Linked DNA regions of Homo sapiens: region 1 is linked to region 2. Evidence: promoter capture Hi-C in human tissues and cell types (Jung and others, 2019). All regions are on one chromosome and are shown on one strand. Each heading gives the region's core, a stretch centred on a gene start or on the middle of the fragment in contact. The rest is flanking DNA. Distances are from core to core; before and after follow the strand shown.

The links. The method cuts DNA at HindIII sites, captures the fragments that hold promoters and counts their contacts. A contact is called where the count stands out against the background at its distance.
Region 1: a contact is called between a fragment that was not itself captured here and the fragment with the promoter of ENPP1 in region 2, in 2 of the 25 tissues and cell types used here (H1 embryonic stem cells and IMR-90 fibroblasts).

What each region holds. Positions count from the first base shown.
Region 1 is chr6:131,722,585-131,726,689 of GRCh38, forward strand. ENPP3 (ectonucleotide pyrophosphatase/phosphodiesterase 3) reads left to right here. Exons shown (of 25, transcript NM_005021.5): 19 at 1,456-1,507; 20 at 3,462-3,616. Among named protein-coding and RNA genes, the nearest start is that of CTAGE9, 14 kb to the left of the region's middle. The HindIII fragment of the contact is 4,940 bases long and covers 1-4,105 here.
Region 2 is chr6:131,806,132-131,810,045 of GRCh38, forward strand. ENPP1 (ectonucleotide pyrophosphatase/phosphodiesterase 1) reads left to right here and starts at 1,889. Exons shown (of 25, transcript NM_006208.3): 1 at 1,889-2,144. The coding sequence starts at 1,905. The HindIII fragment of the contact is 10,154 bases long and covers 1-3,914 here.

The DNA of each region.
Region 1 (4,105 bases), core at 1,205-3,704, 83 kb before region 2:
TAAGATTAAGTAGGGAAATATGCTTTATAAACTGGAAAGCACTGTTTGGTAATTGTTAATGTCATTATAAACTAACTGTCCTTCACCATTCAATACAGTAATCTTCGAGCTCTCTCCAACTTTCCTTATAAACCATTCTTCCTGCGGTTTATGAATCAGATGTTCATGCCTGGTTATTTAGAGCAGAAAGAACTAGGAGGGTGTAGGGATTGCAGCCTGCTGTTTGACATACCCACTAGGGTAGGTGCTGCGGGGTGTTCCTTTGGGTAGCAGGGAAGAATCTGGCTGACAGTTGACACTGGGAAGGTCTTTTTAGTAGATTAGGCCCTTGGATGAGTTCAAGAGCAGGACTTCAGATCCCAGGAGACTTTCAATAAGGTGAGGTTTTAGTGCTAGGAGAGGCCCCAAGGGCAAGGAGTCATAACAGCAGCTCAAAATATAAGGACCAAGCCTACTTGTGAGAATCAGAGCGCCTGGATGGGGTTGGGATTTCAGAGTGAAATTGGAGCCCCGTTATCAGGAGTCCTTAAAGCTAAAATTAATGTCAAGGGTCATTTGATGCCAAGTTCCAAATGTGTTTGTAGAACTAAATAAAAACACCTGCTGCCTCAGGTAAGAATTTTTCCTTATAGTCAGAAGTAGGTGAAGACATCACAATCTCTATTCTTCAAAATAGCATTATACCACAGAAATAAATAACCAACCAAAGGGGCTTTACAGGACAAAAGCTTAGCAAACTTCTCAATGAAGATCAAATCCACAGCAAAGATCAGAGTAAGGGTGTGGGTTTCCTACCGACTGCTCCTGATAACCTCAATCAAACTGCCATTAAAAAATAATAATAACATTACTTACTAGGTATATTATTTCTCATTTTAGAGATAAAACATGCTCAGAGAAGTTAGATAAATTGTTCGAGGCCAGAGAAGCTTGTTCTATCTGGCTGCAAACCCCAAGTTCTATGTAAAGAATGCCTCTTGCTATTCAGAGTGTGGTCTCAGGACCACCATCTGCATCACTTGCAAATTGGTTAGAGATGCAGAATCTCAAGCCCTACCCTAGGTTTACTGAACCAGAATCCGTATTTTAACAAAACCCTCAAGTGATTGTATGCATATTAAAGCTTAAGGAGCACTGGGATGTTGTCACCCAACTTAGTCATTGATTCCAGCAGTAATCAGAATGCTTTGCCCCATTATCAATTATCTTTTTGCAAATTCTCTCTCTCTCTCTCTCTCTCTCTCACACACACACACACACACACACACACAATAGGGAGCAGTAGTGTCTCTATATTTCTGAATAGTGGCAGAATCAGAATCTTAAGTTAGGCTAGCTTCTTTGGCAGTATAACATTTAATCGATTACTACAGAAACAATCTTGATTACCCCTTAAAACACATATTGTTGCTTTGACTTATTTCCTCCCCTTTCCCATCCCTCATTATCTTGCAGAGTACTCAGCTGGAACAAGTGAATCAGATGCTAAATCTCACCCAAGAAGAAAGTAAGTCAATAGAAAACATGTTAAGTCTTTGATATTTAGACCTAACAAAACACAATGTGGCCCTTTTAGGACTCTCCAAAATAAGCTGACAGAGGTTCCTGAACATAAAGATTTTATTGCCAATATACAAAAGGTAAAAAAAAAAAAACTCACAACAGATATAATGACAACAGTACAAGCATGGGGTAGTTCCAGTGGTTCCAGGAACAAAACGAATTCCTTGAAGAGGTTGTGACTCATCTGCAGTCCTCTGTTTCCTTTCCTTAGATGTAAGCAGACTGAGCTGCCTGGGTTTGAGTCCTACCTCTGGTGCTTCCTGGCTGTGTGAGCTGGGGCAAATCACTTAGCCTCCCTGTGCCTCAGTCTTCTCATCTGTAATAACCGTACTCACCTCATGTAGTTGTAAAAATTTAAAAAGTTAATACATGGAAAGAATTTACAATTGTGCCTGGCCTGTAGCAATATTATTATTACCTGTTATCTTTTAAGTATTCTTGTATTAAACTCACTCTGTTTCAGTTTCATCGCTTATAAGGGGATACCTACTTTATACAGTTGCTGTGAAGATTACATGAGTTAATATATGTGCCTGGTTTACAGTTAAGAGCTTAGTAAATGTACTAGTTGTTTTGATAATCTTATAATCTGCCAAGTGTTATTCCATGGCATGAATAGCCTGCAGGTTTTTTATCCATCACTAATTGATGGATTTTTAAGAAGCATGCAAGTAAAAGTAAATAAATACATTAGAATGTTGTTTTAGTCCATTCCAATTGCTATTAGGTTGGTGCAAAATTAATTGTGTTTTTTTCTATTAAAAGTAATGGCAAAAAACAGCAGGGCATGGTGGCTCACACCTGTAATCCCAGCACTTTGGGAGGCTGAGGCAGACAGATCACTTGAGGTGAGGAGTTCAAGACCAGCCTGGCCAACATGGTGAAACCCCGTCTCTACTAAAAATACAAAAAAAAAAAAAAAAAAATTAGTTGGGCATGATGGTGCACCCTTGTAATCCCAGTTACTCAGGAGGAGGCTGAGGTAGGAGAATCACTTGAACCCAGGAGATGGAGGTTGCAGTGAGCTGAGATCATGCCACTCCACTCCAGCTTGGGTGACACAGCAAGACTTGGTCTCAAAAGTAATGGCAAAAACCACAATTACTTTTGCTCCAACCTAATATAACAAGATGCCATAGACTGGGTAGCTTATAAACAACAGAAATTTACTTCTCATAGTTCTGGAGGCTGGGAAACCCAAGATCAAGTTGCCAGCAGATTTGGTTTCTGATGATGGCCTGATTCCTCATAAAGGGCCTTCTTCTCACTCTGAGCTCGTATAGTGGAAGGAGTGAAGGTGTCCCTAGGGTGTCTTTGATGAAAGCCCTAATCCTGCTCATGGGGGTCTTATATCATGCCTTAATCACCTCCTAAAGGTCCCACCTCCTAATACCATCACCTTTGGGATTAGGATTTCAATGTATACGTTTTAGAGACACATAAACATTCTGATTATAAGACATAAGTTTATAAAATTCCAACATCTTCCCTATGACAATTACTAGACTAGGTCATCTTTGTTACAAAGTATGTACTTTTGACTTTGAAGGTTTTACCTCTTCATGTATATCCTCTGAGCTGTAAAATGTAAGGAATCACAGAGGGCAGGCTTCAGATCCTTGCTTAGGCTCTTGCTTGGCCAACTTACTTATGTAAACCTTAGTTTTATAATCTGTAAAATGGAGTAATAACACCAATATTATTATTATTATTTTTAATAATTATACATTGGATTGTTGTAAGAATTGAAAGAGGTTAAATATGTAAAATATTTGTTAGAGTACTTGTCATATAATAAGCCATAAGAGAGTGGTAGTTATTATATGGGTAGTTATTACATGCAAAGAAGCATTTGCTAATTTCATGAACCTTTTTATTTTATGTTATTTTAATTTTAGTAACAGCAACAGTGAAAGTAAATTTGCCATTTGGGAGGCCTAGGGTACTGCAGAAGAACGTGGACCACTGTCTCCTTTACCACAGGGAATATGTCAGTGGATTTGGAAAAGCTATGAGGATGCCCATGTGGAGTTCATACACAGTCCCCCAGTTGGTAAGTTCCTGAGTCCATTGATCCATGCAGGCAAGAAATATTTATAATCCTTTCATATTCTAAGAGTTGAATTTTGTTTTGCAGCAGAGATTCAAAGGGAGGGAACTCACTGGCCTGTAGCTTGCAAGACAATGTGCAAGTATTAGATAAAGGTTGTTATAGGTGCTACACGGGTGCAAAAGAGGAACACATTGTGTTTTACCTGGAGAAAATGGAAAATGTTTACAGGCCAATTGGCCAATTGGTAAGGCAGGTAGAAAAGGACATTTTAAACAGAAGCAACAGGAAGTACAGAGGAATACTATTCATTTAAGATTCCCCATGTACATCATGGGTGCATGTAGAAGGTGATGATAACTAGATTATAAAGGGCTTTGTATTTATTTGATTATTTAACAAGTACTTTACTATTTGTTGTGTGTTATAGTAGGCACCAAATATACAAGGTGAATAGGCATAGTTCTTCTCTGAAGGATCTGGCACTCCAGT
Region 2 (3,914 bases), core at 639-3,138:
AATTTTTAATAGGCAAAAGGAGGAGAATAGCTCTGCTACAGAGAGGGGTCCCAAAAAATGGGTTGCAATACGTGGTGAAATGCAGGGGTTTTTATAGATGAGCTAGTGGGGAGGCGGTGTCTGATCTACATAAGGAGGGAAAACCCGGTTTCGTGCATATGGCATGAAAACCCGGTTAGGACCAGGTGTGTCATCTGCATAGGGCTTAAGTGTCTGGCAGCCCCGGCCCCAATCTTCTACTATATAGGCAGGTAGCTACTCCGTGTTGCTTATTTCCTTCTTACTGTGCATGTGGTAAAAAAGAGGGGAGGTGGAACCCCCATGGTGGACATGCCTGGCCCCAGTAGCCCCTTCTGTCTGTGCCGCTGCCGGCATCTCCCGTGCAAGCTTCCAGTTTCCTTACCTATGTTTGCAGCCCAATCTTCCAGGTTGCTCTTTGTTAGAAAGGAAGTGATTTCTTGGGCTGCTTTTTGTTAGAAGGTAAGTTCTGCCGAGGGCTCTTTTGCTCATACTATCTGCCTAAATAATTTCTATCTCCTGTATCAATATCCTATGTGTGACTCTATTCTGCATATATGACTTAGGTTTTAATTATTTTGTTTACGAGTTGGTCCTACCCCCCCACCCCCGCTTCCACCACACTTAAGGAAAGATACATTTTAATTCATTTTTTATATGGTATGCATAGTTGGAGGCCAAAAGATTGAGTTGAAGGATTCATTACTTGATGAATAAATGGATGGGTGGATGGATGAGTCAGTATAAATGAAGAGCATCCCAAGTTGACTATTTTAAAGGGATAACATGCATTTTATATTTGTTAAACATTCATTCTCATTTGTAAACACTTGTATATATTCATGTATTCAAAATGTATTGAAAATTAATTGTTTTCCTTGGTACCTGAAGTCAGTCCTGGGTATTGCAAAGTAGTTCGAAGTCACTGGTTTCCCTCTGTCTCACTTCACTACACACTGGTGATTTTGCTAAGTGATGAGCCAGAAAATGTACAAGTTCCAGAATCAAAGGTAAAACAAAACCCACCAAGAATCAGCTCACTGTTAGCGTCCTAGTTGAAAAATAAGGCTTATCAAAGTATTTCAGATTGCATTAACACTTTTGATATAGCTAGGTATCAGTGTCAACCTCAGGAGAGGGCAACGCCAACTCCTGAAACCTTCAATACAGAAAGTCTAGAAAAATAAGCAAATATACATACAAACAATAGCGAGAAGACTCCAGAAACCACATAAAACCGTGGGAATCGAAATATCCCTTACGTGTGTTCAGTACATGTGAACCCACGTATTTTAAGTGGACGATTTCTCTCTCAGAGTACCGTAGGTAGTGGGGGACGGGGCGCAGAGGGGGAGAAACAGAAAGTCGCCTTCCTCCATGGTTCATTTGCATTTCCATCCAGAAACTCACAGGTCGACCCCAAGACTCCACTCTCTCCCGCCTTTGAGAAGCCGGACCGGCATCGGCGGCTGCATCCTTCTCCTCCTCCCCGCTCTATTTTGGGGCCCCATGATCTCATGCCCTCTGCAGACCACACGCTGCAATTCCAGCCCAGCCCGCGCCGCGAGGCCACGCAGGGCGATTCCTGCAAGTGTCGGGAGGGTGGCCGGGGCGCGGGGAGGGGACGGCTTGGGGGGAAGTTTAAGACACGCCCACGTAAGGGACCCAAAATAACCGACACACAGAGTGCCCGAAATCAGACAGGAAGCCAAATAATCCGGGGCGTTGAGTCGCTTTGCCCTGACTGCGAGAGCCGGGTGTAGGGCGGGGAGCCAAGGATCTGACCGCGAGGGGCGGGCGCGGCGGGGAGGGGCGGGGCGGGGCGGGCGGCGCGGGGCCTATTAAAGGCGCGGCCGGGCAGCGGGGCCGGAGCGGCCGGGGCCACGATGGAGCGCGACGGCTGCGCGGGGGGCGGGAGCCGCGGCGGCGAGGGCGGGCGCGCTCCCCGGGAGGGCCCGGCGGGGAACGGCCGCGATCGGGGCCGCAGCCACGCTGCCGAGGCGCCCGGGGACCCGCAGGCGGCCGCGTCCTTGCTGGCCCCTATGGACGTGGGGGAGGAGCCGCTGGAGAAGGCGGCGCGCGCCCGCACTGCCAAGGACCCCAACACCTATAAAGTACTCTCGCTGGTAGGTCCGCGGCCAGGCCCCGGCGCCCGGGAGGGCTGGGAGTACGGGGAGGGCGGCGCCGAGCTCCTGCGCTCTCAGCGCAGTCAGCACCGGGCACCGGAGAGAGGCATGGTCCGGGAGTGCTTCTTCGCCCGCGCGCTCTCCTCCGCAGCCTTTGCAAGTGCCCTACACAGCCGCCCCTGCCAGGTACCTTGCCAGGGCAGGATGGTTCACTCTCACTTGAATTATGGATGCCTGTGAAAGCAGGCTGTTCAAAACGGTCATCCTTAGAAATACTCGACCCCCTGCCCCAGGAGAGTACGGGTTTTTAGAGGAGAAAAATGTCAAACGCGAAAGTTGTTGGTCTTAAGAAGGTGCATCAATGTGTTGCTTCTTTTAGGGGGCTCTGGGCGCAGTATACATGACTTCACTTGGGTTAACTGATTGCAGTTGAAGAGTTAGCGGAGCTCTTTAAGTTTTATTAGGAACTCTACGGAACACTTTTTCCCTTTCGCTCCGTTTTGGAATTTCCTTGCAGGTGCTCAGAAATTCCATGGATGTTCACATTATGTGACTGAAGAAACCTTTATGATTCTTTGCCCACTCTTCTAACCAGAGGCTACACGGTTTGTGTTGCTAACAAAAGCTACCTATTACTCCTCTGCTATTTTGCTATGACATTTGCAGGACCCACAGTCAACTTCATGAAATGTGGGGGTTGGTTTTTATTCTGAATTCATGGTGGGAAGTGCTGATTGAGAGAAGGCCTGGATTCCTGGCTGTTATTATTTGCTGAGGCCTTGCGTAACTGTCCCTAAACCTCAATTTCTAATGTGTGAAAATGGGACAACATCAACTCCCTTGTGCATTGCATGGGATTATTGTGAAAATCAAGCTGAAGAATGTAGGTAGGGAAGTAAATTGAAAACAGCAAGGAAATAGAATCATTTTTATTGTATTATATGGAAATCACAGATTTCTATGTATAGTGTACCCTAAAATATATCCCCTTACATATGATTGAATAATGCTTTGTAGAAAAATTTCTAATTTTTCAAGTCTCCTTTCATTTTGTATGCATTTCCATTTTCACTATATTTGGGACATCATGGAGATGCTATAATACTTTGAGGAATCAATCTTCCTAGACTTAAGAGATGGTGCCGTATGCTTAGTACTTAAAAAGAAGCCTTAGTTTCACAGAATAAGTACCCCAAGCCACATGATGTTTGCATCTCAAGATAAAATTTTGCATCTTGTAACACTGTTTTGAGTCTATAATAACACAATATTGATGAGAACTTAGTCTCTTGAGTCACCTTTTAAAAATTTTGTTAATGGAAGACCTTAGCTTTTACAACCTGATCACTTAAATTGTTTAGTATTAATACCTTGAGGTGTTTCACACACGATGAGGTAGTCGATAATTGTATATGGAATCAGTGTGTAACTCTTGTGTAAAACCATTTCTACATGCCTATAAACCTTTACAGGTTTTCCAATTGCAAAATTCAGGTTTTAAATTTTTCTTGCTCATTTACTTATACATCCACAACAGATATCAGCAAAGGTCTAGTTTTGGAATAAGCTGTCCAGTCTTTGAGACCTGCAGTCAACTGGTCAAACAGCATTCTGTGTGATGATGCTACTCTGGGCATTTGACATGGAAGTGTCCTAGGACTTACTTCCACAAGTAGGACTATTATGGACCTTTTTTATCCATTAATTGGGGTCTTTTGCATCTATTGAATTGGAAAGAATTCTTACTTCATATCTTTTGATGGAACACTG